4 separate regions of the Homo sapiens genome follow, and regions 1, 2 and 4 are each linked to region 3. The links are contacts of gene promoters, found by promoter capture Hi-C in blood cells and fetal thymus (Javierre and others, 2016). All regions are on one chromosome and are shown on one strand. The core of a region is centred on a gene start or on the middle of the fragment in contact, and the rest is flanking DNA. Distances in the headings are between cores, read along the strand shown.

Region 1 (2,883 bases), core at 343-2,842, 1.5 Mb before region 3:
CGCGATTAAGAGCGGACCGATACGTTTCCCTTAATGATGAATGTGAATAGTTGTCGAGCTGCGTCCTTGATTGTGGGTTCTGATAAGAGATTCATTCTAATCTGACTTCTGTTAACCTGCCAGTCTCCGGATAAGAAGAGAAGGGGTAGAAGGATGGATTGGAGGGAAAGTAGGGGTAACAGGGCTTGGTTAGTCTTAATGGAATTATTAGTCCTTTTAAAGACCATACCATCATTGGGATGGATAAGGAGTTTCTAATTTGGGAAAATGAGAGTTGCTTGCTATTGCGACTTGGGTCTAGTGCCAGATATCAGCATCTTCCCCACCCAGCCAGCTTCCCTCTGGAGGTTTGATTTCTCACTTGGAAGGGAAGTAGGAATGTGGGGTTTTTTTTAGCCTTTAGCCTTTAAACTGTAGGACTTTATAAATCTATAATCTGGTACAAATTACTATTGCCATTTATTAGCCACGCCTATGTTTTTTGCGTTGTAAATTCTTGCAAAAATTTCACTGGCGTTGATTTCTAAAAATCTGGTTAGAGATCTCAGTGTTCTTATGTATTACAAACATTCCTTGAGTTTATGCAGGATCTTTGAGCTAAGCTTAGAGCACTTCCTCAAATATGATTCGTTATCACGACTGTCTGAGAAACTGAGGTACAAATGGTAAAGATGCTAAATTATTTGCCCAGACTCATAGCCAATCTCAGGGAGATTTAAAATCAATGTATTCTATTAATAACTTTTCTAAAGTTTGCAAAGATGTTGGACTTTGGCCTCTCGAACCGTACAATGGAATCAGTCAGCAGGAGTCCCTTTCCCATTTGAAATTACTTATCAAAGGAGAATACAAAGGCACACACAAGTATAATTCAGACTCTCAGCCTCACTCATGATAAAGTGCAGTGATAAATATGGATACAGGTAAAAGATGATCAAGACATCTTGGAGTTCACAGCGTTTCTTTTCTGTGTGGTGAAAATGTGACATTGGTATGCTCTATTCGTTTCTCTAGAACTGGTAGGACAGTAGCTATGTTTTGGTGAATGAATGGAAACTAGAAAACACATACACTGCTTTTCTTTTTGGTTCTTAAGATTAGAGAAAAAACACATCACTGCTTCTATCATCTTTATTTTTATAATCTTTTATATCATGGAAGTATTTTATGTTAAATTGATAATTCCTTGACTTTTAGTTCATTCCCTTGATTTCCATTTGTAGATTCCAGCCCTTTCACACAGCCTTAAAGTTTCTGCTTCTTATCTCTTCTGAATTTTAAATTCCTAAATGAAACTTTCTGTTCCTTCAGTTTTAGGGCAGACTTCAGCTTCCCACACTTTGTGTGTCTATCATTTCATTGGTGTAAAACCCTAAAATCATTTCATTAGTGTAAAACCCTAAAGCCAGATACTTCAGCTGTTGAATTGATAACTTTTTAAAATAGCTAACCACAGAGGTTGTCTTTTGGTGATTGCCACAATCTCATAACAGAAGCAGGAGGGCGTTCTTTGTATTCTGTAAGAATACATAAAAAGACAGTTGGTCGGGCGCGGTGGCTTATGCCTGTAATCCCAGCACTTTGGGAGGCCGAGGCAGGCGGATCACGAGGTCAAGAGATTGAGACCATCCTGGCCAACATGGTGAAACCCCGTCTCTACTAAAAATACAAAAATTAGCTGTGCATGGTGGTGCACGCCTGTAGTCCCAGCTACTCAGGAGGCTGAGGCAGGAGAATCGCTTGAACCCAGGAGGCAGAGGTTGCAGTGAGCTGAGATTGCACCACTGCACTCCAGACTGCTGACAGTGAGACTCCGTCTCAAAAAACAAACAAACAAACAACAACAACAACAGAAGGAGACTGTCTTCTGAATCTGACTCTTAGTCCTTCTGGGACTAAGTGCCAGGTGGTTTTGTGGATTGGGATGGGGAACACAGTTACAATGAGGCCCTACAGTTTGTTGTAATTGTTACAGTAATCTGTGTATCTGTGTATTTTTCTCTCTGCACCTGACAGTGCCTGTATGTAGAAGGTGCACAATAAATATTCGTCAGTTGAATGAATAAATGGAAAACAGTATGAGGGAAGGGGAAATATTCTAATGTATATACTAAATTATTTAGTTCCTCTTTTTGTCAAAAGAAAAAAAAAGCGTAGAAAATGTGTTTCGGATTACTGTTCAAAATATTCTGTAGAGGTGTGTTATTTGCTTCTGTGATTATATGGTGTTCTAAACCACCTGGAGCCTGGCAGTAGCCTGTGCAGGTTCCAGTCAAGTGCAGCTTCACAACCTTGCTCCTACAGTCTGTTCTGGCTAGGCTAATTGGGCAGTTGGATTGATAGCCAGTGTTTTTGCATTAATAGAAGAACTTAGAGCTCTTGGCAATGGCCATGTCAATAGCATTGACCTGACTGCCCTTGTCCCTTATTTTGACGGTGGAAGAGGGGAGTTATCCCTTTTTAAGAGTACTTCTCCAGCAGTTCCTTCTTCTACACCTACATATATCTTCCTGTTTTCCTTCAGCTGTCTCTGTAACCCCAAGTACTAATGAATTCTTTAACATAGGCCTGGGCTGCAGAACAGAAGCTTACTTTGCTATTGAAACCAGCTTCTGACTAACTTACAATGTCAGCATGACTGCTCGAGCTGCCTAGAAGAGAAAATAATGCAAAGATCTCACTTCTGATTTGGTCTTTCTTACCAAAAACAAAAGAAGAAATGCCTAGCTTGGGATGTAAAGAATCTACATGACAGATGGGTGCGTCTGTCATCCCAGTGTGAGATAAGAGAAAAATGTAAGCTGATGCAGAAGAGACCTTGAGCTTTGGTGTGTGTTTAAGGTCTGTACTTTCTGGCAAGATAACCCCTTTAGAGAAGAGGGT
Region 2 (2,700 bases), core at 87-2,586, 1.8 Mb before region 3:
TTACCAATCATCTTCCTTTTTCTTTTCTTTTTTGGACTCTTGTCATTTGAAATATTGGGTGGGGGGGAACGCTTTTTTTCTTCTTTTGATTGCTCTACTTCTTCTAGTGATTTCGTCATGATTCAAGACTTTCTTTGAAAGTAAAATGGAATAAAAATGAAACACTACGAACTTTGTTGCCTATCCTCGCTGTTTTTCTTTTTGACTTAACTTTGCGTTGGGGTGCTTTAAAGTAACCCTATTTGAGAGAAGGAGGTTGAAGGGCATTCTAGCGTCCCCAACTAGAGTAAAAGGGCTATGACAGAAGGCAATCAAAGGAGGAAATAATTAGCAATCTTCAACGTTCAAGATTAATCAGTTCTGTTTAGCGGTTATTAAAGGGAAGAAAGAAACCAAATGGGAATAGTGAATTATTGGTCCTTTCATGTTTTACACTTAATGCTGGTACATAGTATTCTTTCCACATTCTACTGCACATTGCCTAGAGAAAGAACTGCAGATCATCAAATAATTATCCATTTCCAAATGGTCTAATGACAGCAGATACAAAGGCGGCTCACTTAAAACCTTCCGTTAACAGTCACACTGCATCAAATGGTGCTAGCTTTAAGTAGGCCACCCATTTAGTAGACTCTGAAACAACACCTTTCCGCCCAATTTCTGTCATTTGCTCCTTAAGTCAAGGGTAGTACCCTGCGTAACATCTTACAAAGGCCTACTTCTAACACTTCCCGAATCTTAATGTGTGAGGATGTTGATCACCATAATTTATGACCTTATCTAAGACAGTGGGGTGACTCTCCACATTGGGAGCCCCCTCATTTGTCCTCAGTGACTTCTAAAAACACCGCTGGCGTGGGCTGGATATTTGATCTTGGGGCCAAGTGCTTCCAGACTTTGTTCTCTGGCCTTAAAGGTGAAGAGCCCGGCGCTGAAGGCCACAGACATCACGGCGGATTTCACAGAGGGCCGCGTTCCGGGAGCGGGTGGCCAGGCGGTGGCGGACGCCCCACCTGTCCATCCTCCTACCCCTTCCCCCCCCCGTTGTTTGGCCGGTGGGAGCCCCTCCTTTCAGCAGGCGCCGGGCGGTGGGGTTGCGGATGGCTGCGCGCGCTGCGGGCACCGATCACCGGCGGCAGTTGGGCTCCGCGGGGCCGAAAAGCTGCGGGCGGGAAGCGCGAGGTTAAGACCCTGACGGCTGCAGCTCTCAGAGCCCCCGCGAGCGCGCTCCGTTGGTGCGCGCGCGCGCGCGGCTCCGCCCCGCCCGCTTGGCGCGCGCCCCCGCCAGGTCCGCTCTCGTCCCCCACCCCTGGCGCGGACGGGGTGGTTCCAGCTCACTCTCCTCCCCCGAGCGGCAGCGGCGGCGGCGGCGGCGGCTGCTGCGGGCGCTGAATGAGAGACGGTGACTGTTCGGGTCGACGAGTGCTACTCTAGGCGGCGGCGGCCGTGGCGGTGAAGCGTGAGGCCGGCATCGTCTTTCCGTCCTCTGAGGCGACGGCCGCGGCTGCACAGGTCGGTGGGCTCAGGCCGCGGGGCGGTGCGGGGGAGGGAGGGAGGGAGGGTGGGTACGCGGCGCCCCCCGGGCGGCGCGGGGAATGGCGGCGGCGGCGCTGCGGAGTGTGGCTCTCCCGGCCGCGGGCCCCGGGGCTGCTCGCCCTGCGCGCAGGGAGGGGGCTGCGGAGCTGGGGCTGAGGCTGAGGGAGAAGGGCGCTGGGCGGCGCGCCTCCCTCGGCCGCGGGTTCTCAGAGTCGGAGCGGCCGTGGGGTCCCCGCTCGGGGGCGCCGTCCTGAAGCCGGGGGCGCTGCGACCCCTTGAACCCGCCTCGCTCTCCCTCTTGGGTGGCGGAAGCCCCCAGCCTCCGCCCGCTCTGTTCTGGCGCCCAGCGGCGCCTCAGTCTTCCTTCAGGTGAGCCCGATCCCGGACCTCGGAGCCAGGACCAGCAGAAGCCGGGCCACACCCCCTCCCCTGGCCCTGGCGGCTGCGCCCAGAAGCCTGGCCGCAGAGTTGGCCGCCCGCGAACCCGCGGAGTCGCGGTCAGGGTGACCTGTTGCAGAGCGGCCCGCAGCCCGAGCGGCCCCCGCCAGCCCCGGCCCCGGAGGGGCTGCGTCCTGTGCTGGCCTCGGGCCGGGCGCGCGGGCCGGGTGTGGGGCAGGGGCCGCAGCCCCAGGTCGGCTTGCTCTACGGCCTGGAACCGGGCTCTAGAAAAAAAAGGAGATTCCGAACGTATCTCATCAAACACTTGCAAAGCCGGGAGATCTGTCTGCAAATATCCGGAATTCCATTGCAGTATCGGATTAGGTAGGCTCATAAACACCGTGCTTTTGAGGTGATTTGGAAGAAACGCGAGCCACGAGCGAGGAACTAGTTTCTGGAAAATAGCCGTAAACCTGTGCGGAGCGAATTATTAACCCCCCGCCCCAGCTCCCCCCTCGAAGCTCTTTTCCTGTAGCTGTGTGTTGTGTAGACGCAAGCCAGTTTCAGTGTACGTGGGCGTGTTTGGGAAGAAGCTGCGAGCTGATAGGAGGTACCTAGTACAAATGTTAATTTGTTTGAGTTGGGAGGGGTAAGGGAGGAGGAAGAAAGGGCACTGATGTTAGCTGTGGAGGAGGGGCAATTGAAATACTAAATTTCTGTTAAAAAAAAAAAACCCCAAAAGAAATATCTAATGCCTACTGTGTATTTAAGACCATAAAGTGGAAT
Region 3 (2,700 bases), core at 96-2,595:
GTATCAAACAGAAAGGAAGACATACTCAACGAAAACATAAATCAAAGATATTTAGGATTTTATAAAAATCACAATAAAAGTTGTAATACTGCATTTTGCATTGCATCACATTATTATTATTATTATTATTTGAGGTGGAGTTTCTTCGCTCTTGTTGCCCAGGCTGGAGTGCAATGGCGCACAATCTTCGCTCACCGCAACCTCCGCCTCCTCAGCCTCCCGAGTAGCTGGGATTACAGGCATGCGCCACCACGCTCGGCTAACTTAGTAGAGACGGGGTTTCTCCATGTTGGTCAGGCTGGTCTCCAACTCCCGACCTCAGGTGATCCTCCCGCCTCGGCCTCCCAAAGTGCTGGGATTACAGCCGTGAGCAACCACGCCCAGCCCTGCATCACATTATTACAATCCTATTATCTTTTTGGATCTCTATATAGTTTTATTAACTTTACCGTATTTACTTCCATGTGGCCCTCTGGGAAAGAGTAAATGAATGATATATCTTATTTTATCCTCATTTTGTAAAGGTTCTTGGGCTGGTAAAATGCAAGATCACTGAATAAGTCAGAGAAAAAAACACAAAAACAATGTCCAGTGTCCAGCTAAATAAACATCACTCCTAAGAAAGCAAACATCTTTTCCACGTTCAGGATGATGCTCATCCCCAGCAGATGGTCAAAAAAAAAAAAACAAAACAAAATACACATACACAAGCTTCATTACACCTAGCTATTAACCATACATGCTTGCTATCAGTTGTTGAGGAAGAAGGCTCCGTGTCTTTCTCCCCCATCCACCCTCTCCCTGCTACTTTACCTGTTTGTACCTGGCATACAGGTACAAGAGCTGCTCCCTGCTGGCCACCTGAATCAGGCCTTGCAGGTGCGCGGCAGCCTTCTCAAACAGCTCGGCCAGGCAACTGGTCTCCTCGATCTCAGGGCTATGGGGGAACTCCACCTCCCCGGAGTCGTCCCCTGAGCTCAGCTCTCCACCGCTGTCGCCGGTGATGGCCCCCGCGGGCAGGAATGATGAAGCCATGTCTCCTTGCTCGCTCCGTCCCTCTGTGTCCGGTCTGTCCTCCTTGGATTGGGTGTAAGGCCGGCTTGGAGGCCTGGCCCACCAGTCTGGGTCGCGAGCCTGAGCTCCAGTCGGACCCAAGCTCAGTCGCGGCGCGCTCCCTCACGTGACCCTGCTCCCTGCCCACTTCTACTCCCTGGGCGTGCAGAGCAGGCTCCTCGACCCTCTGCCGCTCTGCCCAGTCGACCCGGTCTCCTCCGGCTTCCCTCCGGCCAACAGCGCGCTCAGGCTCGCCTCAGGCCCCTCCAACGGAACAGGAGTCGAGGGGCAGTGAGGCCGGGATGCGTGCGAGCGCGGGGCGCGGCTGGCGCTGGGCCGTGGGGGCGGGGCGGCGTGCGTGCCAGCGGCGTGCGATTCTGTGAGGCCTGCTCTGCGCCGGCGGGGAAGCGCGGGCGACGCTACGCTGGACGTCCTTCCCTGCCGGAGGAGAGAAAGTGCCGTCAGCTGTAGGGGCGTCTTTTAATCGTTTCGCTGAAATTAGCAGTCCCGAGCTCCGGAGCCCGCCACCGGGATGGGCCCCCGGGGGTGGGGGAAGGAGGCCGTTTGTGTGGTAGTGTAGCGGTGAGAGCGGAGTCGCGGGAAACGCGAGGCTGAGGACTAAGGTTCCGCCTGCCCCAGATTGTGCGCCCCAAGCGCCTCCAAACAGCCCTGCGCGCGGATCTGTTGCGTGCGCGTTGGGCTCTGTGTTGAATAATGAAAAACTGCGAGATGGGGCTGTCCCGTCTTACTGTGTGACTGATGAGTGGAATCACTGCTCTGCGTGTTTCGCTCTCCACACCTTCGGAGCCCGCACCTCTCCGGGCCCTGAATAATAGGGTTTGGGGAGTTCGGGGCGCGCCTTAGCCCAGTTCTCATCCCGAGCTCTGTCTTTGACACTGTGCTTTGTAGACACTGTACAGTGAAACCAGAAGTACGGCACAGTTCGGCCCTAGAGGAATGCACAAAACTATTTTTTTAACTGTAACATTATGAGTGGTTATGTCCTAAATGTTAAACACAACGACGCACTATATATTCATTTAGTATTCAAAACAATGTAATAAGCACTATAAGAAGGGTACAAAGAAAGTGTTGTAAACAGTGGTTATTGACTGGGGTTAGGCTTGCGACGGGTGGACGGACGGCTGGACAGGATGAGGAAGCAATGAGAGAACACAGGAAGGTGAGAAAGCTTGCATCAGGATTCAACAGACATTCCTTAAGTCTCCAGAAAGTTCCACTGTTAGTCCCTGCTGTCAAGGTGCTCGCAATCCAGTCAAAGGGATGTTTAATGACCAAATTCTTGCAATTAAAAAGTGATTAAGAATAATGTATTGAGGACTTGATCATTACAACATAAGGTAGGTACTCTTATTTTACTACACATAGGAAATCAGCACAGAGTGGTTAAGTAACTTGTCAAAGGCTACACAGCTAGCAAATGGAGGAGCAAGGAAAAAGAAGTTAGCTTTCATGTGGGGTAATAATGGATGATGAACCCGACAAGTAGACTGAAGGAGATATAACATGGACTTTTATATCTTTGTTTCTAGAATTTTTATTAAAGTGAGAATTGAATATTATCAACGGCTTTTTTGGCATCTTTGGAGATTATCTGCTTTTCTCCTCTAGTCTTCGAAAGGAATT
Region 4 (2,704 bases), core at 15-2,514, 1.5 Mb after region 3:
AAAACTTTAGACAAATTAAATTTACCAGTTTATTTGAGCAAAGAATGACTCAGGAATCATGCATCACTGAGAACCAAAAGTTCAGAGTGCTGCACAGTGTGAGCAATGGACTTTTATAGGCCCAACACAGAAGCAGAGGAGAGGAATCACCTGATTGGTTGGGCATGGTGGCTGATGCCTGTAATCCCAGCAACTCGATAGACTTACTAGGGAGGATTGCTTGAGCCCAGGAGTTTGAGGCTGCAGTGAGCTGTGATCACACCACTGCACTCCAGCCTGGGCAACAAAGCAACCCTCCTGCCCCCACCCTGACCCCATCTGCTGTACTTGTCAGTAAGCTTGCTTTGGGTTTATGAGATCCAATAAATATGGATTCATATCAAACTGTTTGTCTCACCTTATTCATCAGTTGACACCTATCAAAGGCATATCCCGGGCACTGTTCTGAACATGTGAGGACAAGAGATTCAAAATGCTAAAGGCTCACAATATCACAGCAAGATGCTATTGGGAATTAGAGAGACCAGCATGTTGCTAACAAGAAAACCTGCGTATGTGATTGCAGAATTCTACAGGTGGTCTTAAAGAAGTTTTCTCATGGGCCATATTCATATTCTGTGCTTTATTCAGCTTCATATTTTTTCTCTAGCAAGGTATCATCAAGAGTTTGCAGGAGGACATTGTTACTCTTGCTGAAATTCTGTCAGCAGGACTAAGGTTACATATTATCATGCCCCTTCTGCTTCCAATAACAAATGACCTTAAAAATAGCATGGCCTGAGATCTATGCCAAGAAAATATCCACATTATATTTGTAATTCACACTGTTCTGAAGTTGAATTTGTGATTATTATATTGAGACTATATTAAAATACTTCCCTAGTTGTATTTATTATGCTCATGAGATTTGGTGATTTATTATTAAACCTCTTAGAGTTAATTATGTTTATTGCCCCAGTCTTTTCTGAAGGAAACTTGGGAATTGTCTTTCTTATCCCTAATTAGGAAATTACAAAATGCTCTTCTGAGCACATGGGAATTGTTTTCCCTTGCTCCATGAGACTGACCCACCAGGTTTATTAAACAAAAACCTCTTTGATAACAGATCAAAATTTTAACTTTACTATTAAAATATATAAAGATATTCTATTAAATAGCAGATCAGCTTCACCCCTTCTAGTTCCTCATTTTACATTTTTGAGGGAAGAAGGGTTTTTTCCCTCTGGTTGAAAACATACTTTTTAAAAAAATAACAAAATTGCCAAGTTATAAATGTTGTATTAGTTTGCTAGGGCTGTAATAATAAAGTACTATAAGCTGGATGACTTAATAAAAATTTCACCTCTCAGTTCTGGAGGCTAGAAGTCTGATATCAAGGTGTCTTAAAAGTTGGTTCCTTTTAAGGGCTGTGAGGGGGAGTCTGTTCCAGGCCTCTCCCCCTTGGCTTTGTTAATGGCCATCTTCTCCCTATGTCTCTCCACGTTGTTATCCTTCTATTCATGTCTTTCTCTGTGCCCAAATTTATGCAATGGACTGAAAGTGTCCACCCTAAAATGCATATGTTGAAATCCTAATCCCGGTGGGATAATATTTGAAGGTGGGGCCTGTGGGAGGTGATCAGGTCATAAGGGTGGAGCCTCATGATTGAAATTAGTGCCTTTTATAAGAAGAGGTCCAAGAACTGCTAGCTCTCCTTCTGCCGTGTCATGATCCAATTAGAAGTCAGCAGCAGTCTGCAACCTGGAAGAGGACCTTCACCAGACCCTGACTCTGCTGGTGCCCTGATCTTAGACTTCCAAGCCTTCAGAATTGTGAGAAATAAATTTCTGTTGTTTATAAGCCATCCAGTTTATGGTACTTTGTTGGAACAGCCAAATGAATAAGACAATTTATATGAATAGACTTATGGTTCTGTGACTTGGTTTTTTCACTCAACATTTTCTAAACCTGTACTTACAGCTTCGCTTCATTCATCTTAACTGCTATTTAACATCCCATTATATTAATAAAACACAATTGATTTATGTATTCTTTTACTGATGAATATTTAAAATGTTTCCAAAGTTTTGCCATTACAAATTATGCTGCAATTAATATTCTTACATATATTTATAATCTCCTCATGTATACTTAAATTTCTTAAGGGGGAGTGGTCTCCTGCTATGCTGATTGTGTTGCCTCATCAATAAAAAAGCTTAACTGCTTATCCTCAATATGTCTCTATTTATAAATTATATAAATGTCCTATTGTATTAACATGTAATACCCATTATCAAATGTAAATTTTTTCTTAAAAGATAAGTACAAAATTCTACTATTTTCTTCCCATATCCCATTTGAATTGCTAAGGTATAAGGTATAGATATATTGATGATTACTGATACTACTATCATATCATCATCATCATACTGTATTAATAGTATTATATCAATGTAATATTAAACATCATTATATTACTCTCCAAGAACTGTACCAATAATTTGCATTCCTTTTATCAGAGTATGAAAATTTCCATTTCTCCACATCCTTACCAACACTTGATGTAAATATGTACTTTTAACATTTTATTTTGAAAAAATTTCAAACTAGCAGAAAAGTTGTTAGAATAATACAATGACATCCTGTATAACCTCCACCTAGATTCACCAATTAATAACAGTTTGCTGCAGTTGCCTTTTTTTCTCTTTGTCTATCTCCCTCTTTT

What was found. Contacts are between HindIII fragments. The CHiCAGO score rates a contact against its expected background, and 5 or more counts as called.
Region 1: a contact is called between a fragment that was not itself captured here and the fragment with the promoter of ACBD6 in region 3, in 2 of 17 cell types (total CD8 T cells and naive CD8 T cells). The highest score is 6.3, in total CD8 T cells.
Region 2: a contact is called between the fragment with the promoter of RALGPS2 here and the fragment with the promoter of ACBD6 in region 3, in 1 of 17 cell types (non-activated CD4 T cells). The highest score is 6.8, in non-activated CD4 T cells.
Region 4: a fragment that was not itself captured here is called in contact with the fragment with the promoter of ACBD6 in region 3 in 8 of 17 cell types (naive CD8 T cells, total CD8 T cells, total CD4 T cells and 5 more); the score reaches 10.4 in naive CD8 T cells.

The regions. Positions count from the first base shown.
Region 1 is chr1:179,026,759-179,029,641 of GRCh38, forward strand. The region is part of intron 1 of FAM20B (FAM20B glycosaminoglycan xylosylkinase); the gene reads left to right. Among named protein-coding and RNA genes, the nearest start is that of FAM20B, 2.3 kb to the left of the region's middle. RefSeq lists an enhancer at 1,972-2,847 and a silencer at 2,616-2,883. The HindIII fragment of the contact is 1,985 bases long and covers 601-2,585 here.
Region 2 is chr1:178,723,908-178,726,607 of GRCh38, forward strand. It overlaps RALGPS2 (Ral GEF with PH domain and SH3 binding motif 2), which reads left to right and starts at 1,337. Exons shown (of 20, transcript NM_152663.5): 1 at 1,337-1,512. RALGPS2-AS1 (RALGPS2 antisense RNA 1) reads right to left here and starts at 2,377. Exons shown (of 1, transcript NR_187252.1): 1 at 1-2,377. RefSeq lists silencers at 1,111-1,265, 1,167-1,336, 1,597-1,716, 1,917-2,146 and an enhancer at 1,687-2,276. The HindIII fragment of the contact is 4,509 bases long and covers 1-2,700 here.
Region 3 is chr1:180,501,232-180,503,931 of GRCh38, forward strand. ACBD6 (acyl-CoA binding domain containing 6) reads right to left here and starts at 1,346. Exons shown (of 8, transcript NM_032360.4): 1 at 814-1,346. The coding sequence starts at 1,035. RefSeq lists enhancers at 1-268, 269-784, 892-1,392, 914-1,103 and a silencer at 1,314-1,413. The HindIII fragment of the contact is 1,534 bases long and covers 710-2,243 here.
Region 4 is chr1:182,032,336-182,035,039 of GRCh38, forward strand. No RefSeq gene overlaps it. Among named protein-coding and RNA genes, the nearest start is that of ZNF648, 28 kb to the right of the region's middle. The HindIII fragment of the contact is 1,856 bases long and covers 337-2,192 here.